Linked DNA regions of Homo sapiens: region 2 is linked to region 1. The links are contacts of gene promoters, found by promoter capture Hi-C in human tissues and cell types (Jung and others, 2019). All regions are on one chromosome and are shown on one strand. Each heading gives the region's core, a stretch centred on a gene start or on the middle of the fragment in contact. The rest is flanking DNA. Distances are from core to core; before and after follow the strand shown.

Evidence for each region. The method cuts DNA at HindIII sites, captures the fragments that hold promoters and counts their contacts. A contact is called where the count stands out against the background at its distance.
Region 2: a fragment that was not itself captured here is called in contact with the fragment with the promoter of LAT2 in region 1 in 1 of the 25 tissues and cell types used here (IMR-90 fibroblasts).

Annotation. Positions count from the first base shown.
Region 1 is chr7:74,207,601-74,212,580 of GRCh38, forward strand. LAT2 (linker for activation of T cells family member 2) reads left to right here and starts at 2,406. Exons shown (of 14, transcript NM_032464.3): 1 at 2,406-2,488. RefSeq lists enhancers at 1,890-1,999, 3,220-3,339 and silencers at 2,280-2,329, 3,440-3,529. The HindIII fragment of the contact is 33,709 bases long and covers 1-4,980 here.
Region 2 is chr7:74,494,801-74,500,094 of GRCh38, forward strand. The region is part of intron 1 of GTF2IRD1 (GTF2I repeat domain containing 1); the gene reads left to right. Among named protein-coding and RNA genes, the nearest start is that of WBSCR23, 35 kb to the right of the region's middle. RefSeq lists an enhancer at 315-913. The HindIII fragment of the contact is 8,291 bases long and covers 1-5,294 here.

The DNA of each region.
Region 1 (4,980 bases), core at 1,156-3,655:
GTGGGCAGGGCAGGGACAGAGAGACCCCTGCAGAGGCCACGAGGGCAGGGCAGATGGAACAAGTGACCAAAGACAGGTGGAGGAGTGGACGGCACGAGTGTCAGAGGCTGCAGACAGCGAGGGCGCTAAAGGGTGGGAGAAGGAAGGAGAGCCCTGCTCCACCCCAGCCTTGGGGGTCTCATCACCCCACTGCACAGATGAGGCTCCTGGCATCGGGGTGCAGAGAACGGCTCATAGCACAGGCAGAGGGACCACAGCCCACTCCTGCCCAGCGGTGCTCCTGTGCCCAGCCCTGGGGTGGACACCGTGGCTGCCATCCACACAGACATGAGGACCGAGTGAGATAGTTCCCTGTGGAGGCCAGGATGCTCTGGCACCTGAGGTCAATAAAGCCACATCCCACAAGTGGGTGGACTGCCTTGTGCTATTGACCATTAAACAGCTGCCCAAGGCCATTGAGCTATTAATTAAATAATAATTATTATTATTTTAAATTTTTTTGTTGTGTTTTTTGGGTTTTTTTGTTTTTGTTTTGTTTTTTTGAGATGGAGTCTCGCTCTGTTGTCCAGGCTGTAGTGCAGTGGCACGATCTTGGCTCACTGCAAACTCCGCCTTCTGGGCTCAAGTGATTCTCCTGCCTCAGCCTCCCAAGTAGCTGGGATTACAGGCACCCACCATCACACCCGGCAAATTTTTGTATTTTTAGTAGAGATGGGGTTTCACCATTTTGGCCAGGCTGGTCTCAAACTCCCGACCTAAATAAGGTGATCCACCTGCCTTGGCCTCCCAAAGTGCTGGGATTACAGATGTGAGCCACCACGCCCGGCCTATTTATTGTTTTTACAGACAGACAGGGTCTTGCTGTCCCCCAGGCTGGAGTGCAGTGGCAGAGTCACGGCTCACTGCAGCCTCCAACTCTTGGGCTCAAGAAATCCTCCCGTTTTGGCCTCCCAAAACACTGGGACTACAGGTGTGTGCCACCACACCCAGCTAATTAAAAAAATTTTTTTAGAGATGGGGTCTCGTTCTGTTGTCCAGGCTGGTCTCAAATTCCTGTTCTCAAGCGATCCTCCTGCCTCAGCCTCCAAAAATGTTAGGATTGCAGGTGCAAGCCACTGCACCTGGCCTCTATCTCCCTGTTTCTTGCTCTCTCCCCATCTGTGTGTGTCTCTGACAGTCTGTGGCTCTCTGTATCTTTCTGTGTGTCTCTCTGTGTGTGTCTTGGTCCATCTCATGCCCAGCTAATTTTTAAATTTTTTGTAGAGATGGGGTTTCACCATGTTGGCCAGGCTGGTCTTGAACTCCAGACCTCAGGTGATTCTCCTGCTTCAGCCTCCCAAAGTGTTGGGATTACAGGCATGAGCCACCGTGCCTGGCCCATGGGTATGAATTTCTGCCTGTGTGTGTCTTCTTCTTTTTTTTTTTTTTTTTGAGATGAAGTCTTGCTCTGTCACCCAGGCTGGAGTGCAGTGGCGCTATCTTGGCTCACTGCAACCTCCACCTCCTGGGTTCAAGCAATTCTCCTGCCTCAGCCTCCCGAGTAGCTGGGATTACAGGCACCCGCCACCACACCCAGATAATTTTTGTATTTTTGGTAGATATGGGGTTTCACCATGTTGGTCAGGCTGGTTTTGAACCCCTGACTTCATGACCTGCCTGCCTTGGCCTCCCAAAGTGCTGGGATTACAGGCATGAGCCACCGCGCCCGGCCCATGGGTGTGAATTTCTGCCTGTGTGTGTCTTTTTAGCGTATGTGTGTCTCCATATCTGCCATCTGCAGGAGCACCTCAGTTTCATTATCTTGCTCCCTGTCTATTGGAGTGTATCTCTCTTCCTCTCTGTGTGACTTTTTGTGTTTATGTGTGTGTTTAGTGTGTGTCCATATTTTCCTGTTCTCTTGTGTCTCTCTGCTGTGTCTCTCTCTTTTTCTTTCTGTTTTTTGAGACGGAGTCTCCCTCTGTCACCCAGGCTGGAGTGCAGTGGTGCGATCTCGGCTCACTGCAACCTCTGCTTCTGAGGTTCAAACGATTCTCCTGCCTCAGCCTCCCGAGTAGCTGGAATTACAGACACATGCCACCATGCCCAGCTAATTTTGTATTTTTAATAGAGACGGGGTTTCACCATGTTGGCCAGGCTGGTCTTAAACTCTTGACCTTACGTGATCCACCCGCCTCGGCCTCCCAAAGTTTTTGGATTACAGGTGTGAGCCACCTCGCCCGGTCCTATCTCTCTTTCTTCTCTTTCTCCCTCTCACTTTGTTTCTCTTCTCTCTCTCTCTCCCGCCTCCTTCCCCCGTCTCCCCTCCCTTCCCCCCACCGCCCTCTTCATAGCTGAGCCTGTCCGGCAGTGCGGCGGATGTACGGATGATTCAGTGGCTGGCAGGAAGCCCGCCCTGCCCGCCCGCCAGTGTCAGTGGTGTTGGCATCAGCTTGGGCAGGTGTGCGGGCTCAGGATGGGGCGGCCGTGGTGAGGAACCCTGGACTCTCAGGTAAGCCTTTCCCAGGGGTGCCTCAGTCCTCAGGCTGTCCCCCATCCCCCAGGAGCTCCTGGCCCCACTGGGTGGGGTGGGAAGAGGCCTGGATGCCTGGCGCCCCCTCCCGCAGCCCCACTCTCACCCTGGCACCAGGCTCTGTGGCACTTCAGGGGTCAGTTTGTTTCTGGGCTTCTGGCCACTCTCTTGCCCTCGCCTTCCCCTGTCCAGCCTGTGTAGCCTTGGGACATCCCAGGGTGGTCCCATCATTGCCAGAGACTGGTGAAGTAAGTGGCCGAGAGCCAAAACAGTGGCTGCCCTGGCCTGGGAGCCTCGGTTTCCTCATCCGTGAAATGGGACTGTAACCCCCTACACAGGTCAGGGGAAAACGGTGGGATTACAGGCCAGGGCCCAGGTCTTGCCCCAGGTCAGGTGAAGAACCCCCACTGCCTCCCTGCCCAGCCCCCTACCTGGCCCTCAACTCTGTCCCTGGGACCAGGGCTGCTCAGGCCCCTCCTGCACCCGCCCGCCTCCCTCTCTCCCTCCCAGCTAGGCTCATTTGAAGCCCAGAGTTATTTGGAAAAAGCAACAGGACCAGCCGGGCACGGTGGCTCAACCTGTAATCCCAGCATTTGGGGAGGCCAAGGCGGGAGGATCATTTGAAGTCAGGAGCTGGAGACCAGCCTGAGCAACATAGTGAGACTCCCATCTCTTTAAAAAATAAAAATAAAAAAATATAATTAAAAACTAAATGAAAAAACCAACAGACCCCAGAGCAGAGTCCAGTGGATAAAGCCATCCAGGGCTTCAAGCCAGGCTGCCCCCTCCCCAACCCCAGTGTCCCCAACCACAGCTCAGCTCGGAGAAGGCTGGGAGAACCGGCAGGGTGGTCTCGAGCGTCCTTCCAGGCGGGATTCAGACACTGTAGCTCCTCCAGCCCAGCCCCGAGAACTTCCCCGAAGCCAGCTCTTGGCAATCGTTGTTCATATGAAAACTGCCCACTTCCCTTTAGTGCTATTTTGGCCTCTGCAGAACCGTGGTCTGTGGCAGCCCCCACTCCCCACCCCGCCCAGCCCTGCCGGCCCCTGGGGGCCTCAGAGGGTCCACCCTCCGCTCCCTCCACCTCAGCCCACCTGCTTTCAGAACCTGGATGGGAGAGTGAAAGTGAGAGCGAGACAGAGACACAAAGGGAGACAGAGACAGAGAGAGAGCACAGAATTTTTTTAAACGGAGTCTCACTCTGTTGTCCAGGCTGGAGTGCAGTGGCGTGATCTCGGCTCACTGCAACCTCCACCTCCCAGGTTCAAGCAGTTCTCCTGCCTTACCCTTCCAAGTAGCTGGGGACTACAGGCACGTGCTACCACACCTGGCTAATTTTTTATTTTTTATTTATTTTTTATTTTTTGGAGACAGTCTTGCTCTGTCTCCCAGGCTGGGAGTGCAGTGGTGCAATCTTGGCTCACTGCAAGCTCCACCTCCCGGGTACATGCCATTCTCCTGCCTCAGCCTCCCGAGTAGCTGAGACTAGAGGCGCCTGCCACCACGACCGGCTAATTTTTTGTATTTTTAGTAGAGACGGGGTTTCGCCATGTTAGCCAGGATGGTCTCAATCTCCTGACTTTGTGATCTGCCTGCCTCGGCCTCCCAAAGTGCTGGGATTACAGGTGTGAGCCACCGTGCCTGGCCTAATTTTTTATTTTTAGTAGAGACAGGGTTTCACCATGTTGGCCAGGCTGGTCTTGAACTCCTGACCTCAGATGATTTGCCCGCCTCAGCCTCCCAAAGTGTTGGGATTACAGGTGTGAACTACCGCACCCGGCCAACAGCGCAGGATGTATTCAGTCTGGGGGCAGACACATGACTGTTTGTTAAATTTCATTTTTTGTTTTTAGAGATGGGGTCTTGCTCTGTCACCCAGGCTGGAGTTCAGTGGTGTGATCTTGGCTCACTGCAGCTTCCAACTCCTGGGCTCAAGCAATTCTCTTGCCTCAGTGTCCCAAGTAGCTGGAACCACAGGCATGTGCCACTGCGCCTGCCTAATTTTTTCATTTTTTTGTAGAGACAGGGCCTTGTTACATCGTCCATGCTGGTCTCGAACTCCTGGCCTCAAGCGATCCTCCTGTCTCGGCCTCCCAGTGTTGAGATTACAGGCGTCAGCCACCACGCCCAGCCTGATCCCATTTTATTTATTCATTTATTTAATTTATTATTATTATTATTATTATTTTGAGATGGAGTCTCACTCTGTCTCCCATGCTGGAGTGCACTGGCGTGATCTCAGCTCACTGCAACTCACTGCCTCCTGAGTTCAAGTGATTCTCATGCCTCAGCCTCCCAAGTAGCTGGAATTACAGGCTTGCACCTCCACGCCTGGCTAATTTTTGTATTTCTAGTAGAAACAGGGTTTCACCATGTTGGCCAAGCTGGTCTCAAACTCAAGTGATCCTCCTGTCTCAGCCTCCCAAAGTATTGGGATTACAGGTGTGAGTCCCTGTACCCAGCCCGACCTC
Region 2 (5,294 bases), core at 2,632-5,131, 290 kb after region 1:
GAGAGCAGTGGTGTGATCACAGTTCACTGTAGCCTCCACTTCCTGGGCTCAAGTGGTCCTCTTGCCTCAGCCTCCCCAGTAGCTGGGACTACAGGTATGCACTACCATGCCTAGCTAATTTTAAATTTTTTTTGTAGAGATGGGGGGTCTCACTATGTTACCCAGTCTGGTCTTGAACTCCTGGCCTCAAGCAATCCTTCTGCCTCAGCCTCTCAAAGTGCTGGATTACAGGCATGAGCCACCACACCTGGCCTAAGAATGTATTGTCAGATTTAAAACCATTGCAGGAGGATGGACCAGAGAAGAGGGCCCTGGGGCCCCAGAATGGGGGTTTATCTGCCAGCTGGATTCCAGGGGTCTGAGTACCCAGGTGTCTGGGGTGGGAGAGTGGGTGCAGGCTCCAGGTGGGCGTGTCCCCTTTGGGAAGGGCGGGACAGGGCCCTCCAGAGCCCAGGCCCAGGCTCTGGGCTGAGGCTAGGACAGTCTCAGAGCATTTCCCGCTGGACAGCCCCAGAATCTGACTGCAGTCTGTGCCAAGAGCACTTCGGCGTTCTGCTCCACTCCTGCCAGCCCCACCACGGACGTCACACCCCATCGGGCTCCCTTGTGCCTTAGTGCCTTTGCCTGAGCTGTCCCCTCTGTCTGGACTGCCCCATCCCTCACCATTCACCTTCTTCATGGCTCATGATTCTTCCAAACTTGCATCAACGGCCCCTCTCTTCGGAGGCCTTTCCAGGCCTTGTTATGTGTAGCAGGCCCGGGCACACACAGATGAAAGCAATCAGCCCTGTTCTCCAGGAGCCAGTGCATGGGGGCTCTGACACCTCCACATCCTGGAGGAGGAGGGAAGGAGGGGCTGAGGGAGCCCAACCGAGGGGCACAACAGGAGGTGTTGACGAGCCCACAAGAGCTAAGAGGGAGCCAGCAGCGGGGAAGGGCATTTCTTAAAAAGGGCACAGCAGGTGCAAAGGCCTGAGCGAGAGTGCAAGGCCCACCCAGGGGCCTGCAGACTGGAGTGTGGGGCTCTGGAGGGAAGACAGGTTCAGCTTGATCTGTGATGTGACTCCTGATGGGACAGTGAGCCTTTGGAGGGTGAGGTCATGCCCTGCGCGTCTCTGTGTCCCAGCACGACTGTGGCTGGGGCCAGCCACCTTCTCTGTGAAGGTTTTCACTGCATTCAGACTGTGCTGGGACTGGCCCCAGGAGGACTTGGACTAGCGTGTGTGTGAGTGAGTGTGCATGTGTGCACACATGTGTCTGTATGTGTGGACATGCATGTGAGTTTGCATGCATGTGTGTGCATATGTGTGTATGCATGTGTGAGTGTGCATGCATATGTGAGTGCATTGTGTGCACAAGTACGTGTATGTGTGTATGCATGTGAGTGGCTATGCGTGCGTATGTGTATGGGGTGTCTGCATGTGGGTGTGCATGCGTGTGTGGGTGTCTGCATATGTGTGTATGCATGTGAGTGGGTATGCGTGTGTATGTGGGTGTGCATGTGTGTGGGGGTGGGGGTGTGCATGGGGGTGTGCATGTATGTGCATGTGTGTGTGGGTGCATGTGTGTGTGCATATATGTGTGTGATATATGTGGGTGTGTGTGCATGTGGGTGTCAATGTGTGTGCATGTGTGTATGCATTTGAGTGTGGGTGTGCATGTGTGTTCATGTGGGTGTGCACGTATGTGTGTGTGTGTGTGTTCATGTGGGTGTGCGTGTGTGGGTGTGCATGTATGTGTGGGTGTGTGCGTTTGGGGGGTGTACATGTGTGGGTGTGCATGTGTGTGGGTGGGTGTGGGTGTGCATGTATGTGGGTGTGCGTGTGGGTGTGCATGTATGTGTGCGTGTGGGTGTGTGTGTGAGTGTGCATGCATGTGTGTGTTGACTTGCTAGTGCTCACACTTACCTCTGGGGCAGAGATGTGCTTGTTAGGTGCCCCCTCCCTCTCTCCACTCCATTCCAGCAAAGGTCACTGAGTGTCCTCTCTAGTCTTAGGAACGACACTCGACAGTGGACAATGAGAACAACCAAACACTTCCTCTCTTCCCCCCTCCCCCCATTTTGAAAAATTCTATTAAGGCCAGGCATGGTGGCTTATGCCTATAATCCCAGCAGGTTGGGAGGCTGAGGTGGGAGGATTGTTTGAGGCCAGGTGTTCAAGGCCAGCCTGGGCAACATAGCAAGACCCCATCTCTACAAAAAAATTTAAAATTAGCCAGGCATGGCGGTGCACACCTGTAGTCCCAGCTGCTTGGAAGGCTGAGGTGGGAAGATGGCTTGAACCCAGGAATTTGAGGCTGCAGTGAGCTATGATCACACCACTGCAATCCAGCCTGGGCAACAGAGTGAGACTCTTTCTAAATAAAATAAAATAAAATATAAAAACAGAACTACTATACAATTCAACAGTTCCACCTCTGGGTATATACCCCAAATCATTGAAAACAGGTTTACCAAGTGATTTGCATACTCATGTTAATAGCAGCATTATTTGCAAGAGCGGAAACGTGGAGTGCAGTTGCACAGTCACACCTCACTGCAGCCCCAACCTCCGCAGGCTCAAGCCATCCTCCCGCCTCAGCTTCCCAAGTAGCTGGGACTACAGGTGTGCACCACCACACCCAGCTAATTTTTGTATTTTCTGTAGAGATGGAATCTTGCCAGGCTGGTCTCAAACTCCTGAGCTCAAGCAATCCTCCTGCCTCAGCCTCCCAAAGTGCTGGGATTACAGGCCTGAGCTACTGGACCTGGCTGGTAGTCCTATTTTTAATTTTTTGAGGAACCGCCATGCTGTTTTCCACAGTGCCTGTACCATTTTGCATCCCTACCAGCAGCACACAGGGTTCCAATTTCCCCACGTTCTCACCAGCTCTTGTTTTTTTCCTGTGTGTGGTTTTGTTTGTTTTGTTTGTTTTTGTTTTAGACAGAGTTTCACTCTTGTTGCCCCGCCTGGAGTGCAATGGCATGATGTCAGCTCACTGCAACCTCCGCCTCCTGGGTTCAAGCAATTCTCCTGCCTCAGCCTCCCAAGTAGCTGGGATTACAGGCATGTGCCACCATGCCCGGCTAATTTTTGTAATTTTAGTGGAGATGGGTTTCACCATGTTGGTCAGGCTGGTCTCGAACTCCTGACCTTAGATGATCCGCCTGCCTTGGCCTCCCAAAGTGCTGGGATTACAGGCATGAGCCACCGCGCCCCGCTTTCTTGTGTTTTTTATAGTAGGTATCCTGGTGGGTGTGAGGTGGAGTTTAGATTTGCATTTTGCTAATCTTTAGTGATGTTGGACATCTTTTCATCTGTTTTATGGCCATTTGTATATCTTCTTAGGGGAAAGGTTTACTCAAGTCATTTGCCTATTTTTTAATTGGATTATTATTATTAATGGAGATGATGTCTCGCTCTGTTGCCCAGGCTGGTCTCGAGCTCCTGGCCTCAAGTTATCCTCTCACCTTGGCCTCCCAAAGTGCTGGGATTACAGGCATGAACCACTGCATCCAGTCTTAGTTGTTGAGTTTTAGGAGGTGTCTGCATATCCTGGATATTAATCCCTTACCGATATACTATTTACAAATATTTTCACCCATTCTGTGGTTTGCCTTTTTATTCCATTGATTCTGTCCAAAACTTCTCTTTACTCATAGAGCAAAGGTTGTATATCTCTAAACCAAGCTTCTTCCCTTGCTTCTCTCTGTGGAAACAACAGGGTATTATCCTTCCACTCCTGTACCCAGAGAACTCCTATTCACTCTTGAAAACCCACCTCAACAGTCATCAACTCAGGGAAGCCTTATTTGTCAGGCCCCTCCTCCCCCAAAACTAAGTAAATAAAACATTTAAATAAAACATAGGTAACCCCTTTCCCCATTGTCAAGCTCTGTGCCTGCGCGAGCTTCTCTGCTTGTCCTTCTTTCGTGGTCCTGTAGTTCTTTTTTTTTTTTTTAAATAAGATGGACTCTCACTCTTTCACCCAGGCTGGAGTGCAGTGGCAAGATCTCAGCTCACTGCAACCTCCAACTCCCAGGTTCTAGCAATTCTCCTGCCTCGGCCTCCCTAGTAGCTGGGACTATAGGCGTGTACCACCACCCCCAGCTAATTTTTTGTATTTTTAGTAGAGATGGGGTTTCACCATGTTGGCCAGGCTGGTCTCAAACTCCTGACCTCAAGTGATCCTCCCACCTCTGCCTCCCAAAGTGCTGGGATTACAGGCATGAGCCATCGCACCCAGCCTGGTCCTGTAATTCTCTCTGGACACACTGGCCCTGTGAGCTGGAGGAGGGCAGGCGGAGCCTGGCACAGAGCAGCCTCTTGGTAGGTGTTGAGTGAATGAGTAGGGGTGGTGAGGGGAGGCCACGGAAGGCACCCAGGCTGTGTTCCTCCCACTCCCAGCCTTGCCACGACCTACCAGGTCTCCAGCTCCTGCTGAGCTCTTGCAGGGTGGCCCCTCCCCACTTACAGCTCACTGCCTTGGACTAGGTCCCAGCCAATGGCCCGGCGGAGGTGTCCTCACTGTTCTTACCCAGTATGACCTAGGCGGGAGCCAATAAGCACAGGGAATGAGTATCACCCTGAGGGTTCAAAAGTGTGCAAGGAAGGGAGGAAGGGAAGGAAGGAAGGAAGGAAGAGAAGGGAGTGGGGGAGGGAGAGAGAGAAGGAAGGAAGGAAAGAAGGAAGGAAGGAAGGGAGCAATGAATGAATGCATACATCAAGGAATGAATGAATGCATATACACAAAGGAATGAATGCACACACCAAGGAATGGATGAATGAATGCACACACTAAAGAATAAATGAATGCACACAAAGGAATTAATGAATGTACACAAAGGAATGCATGCACACACCAAGGAATGAATGAATGCACACACCAAGAAATGAATGAATGAATGCACACATGAATGAATGCATACACACAAAGGAATTAATGCACACACCAAGGGATGAATGAATGCATACACCAAGGAATGAATGAGTGTTCACACCAAGGAATGAGTGAGTGAATGAATGCACACGAAAGAAAGAATGAATGTGCACACCAAGTAATTAGTGAATGAATGAATGCACACAAAGGAATGAATGAGTGAATGTACACACCAAGGAATTAGTCAATGAATGCACACACACAGGAATGAGTGAATGAATACACACAAAGGAATGAATGTACACATCAAGGAATTAGTGAATGAATGCACACACAGAGGAATGAGTGAATGAACCTGCCACTTGTGGAGAGTGAAAAAAGCCTGAGAGATCCCCAGATGAGGGAGCCCCCATGTGTGCCCCTGCCGTTGAGAG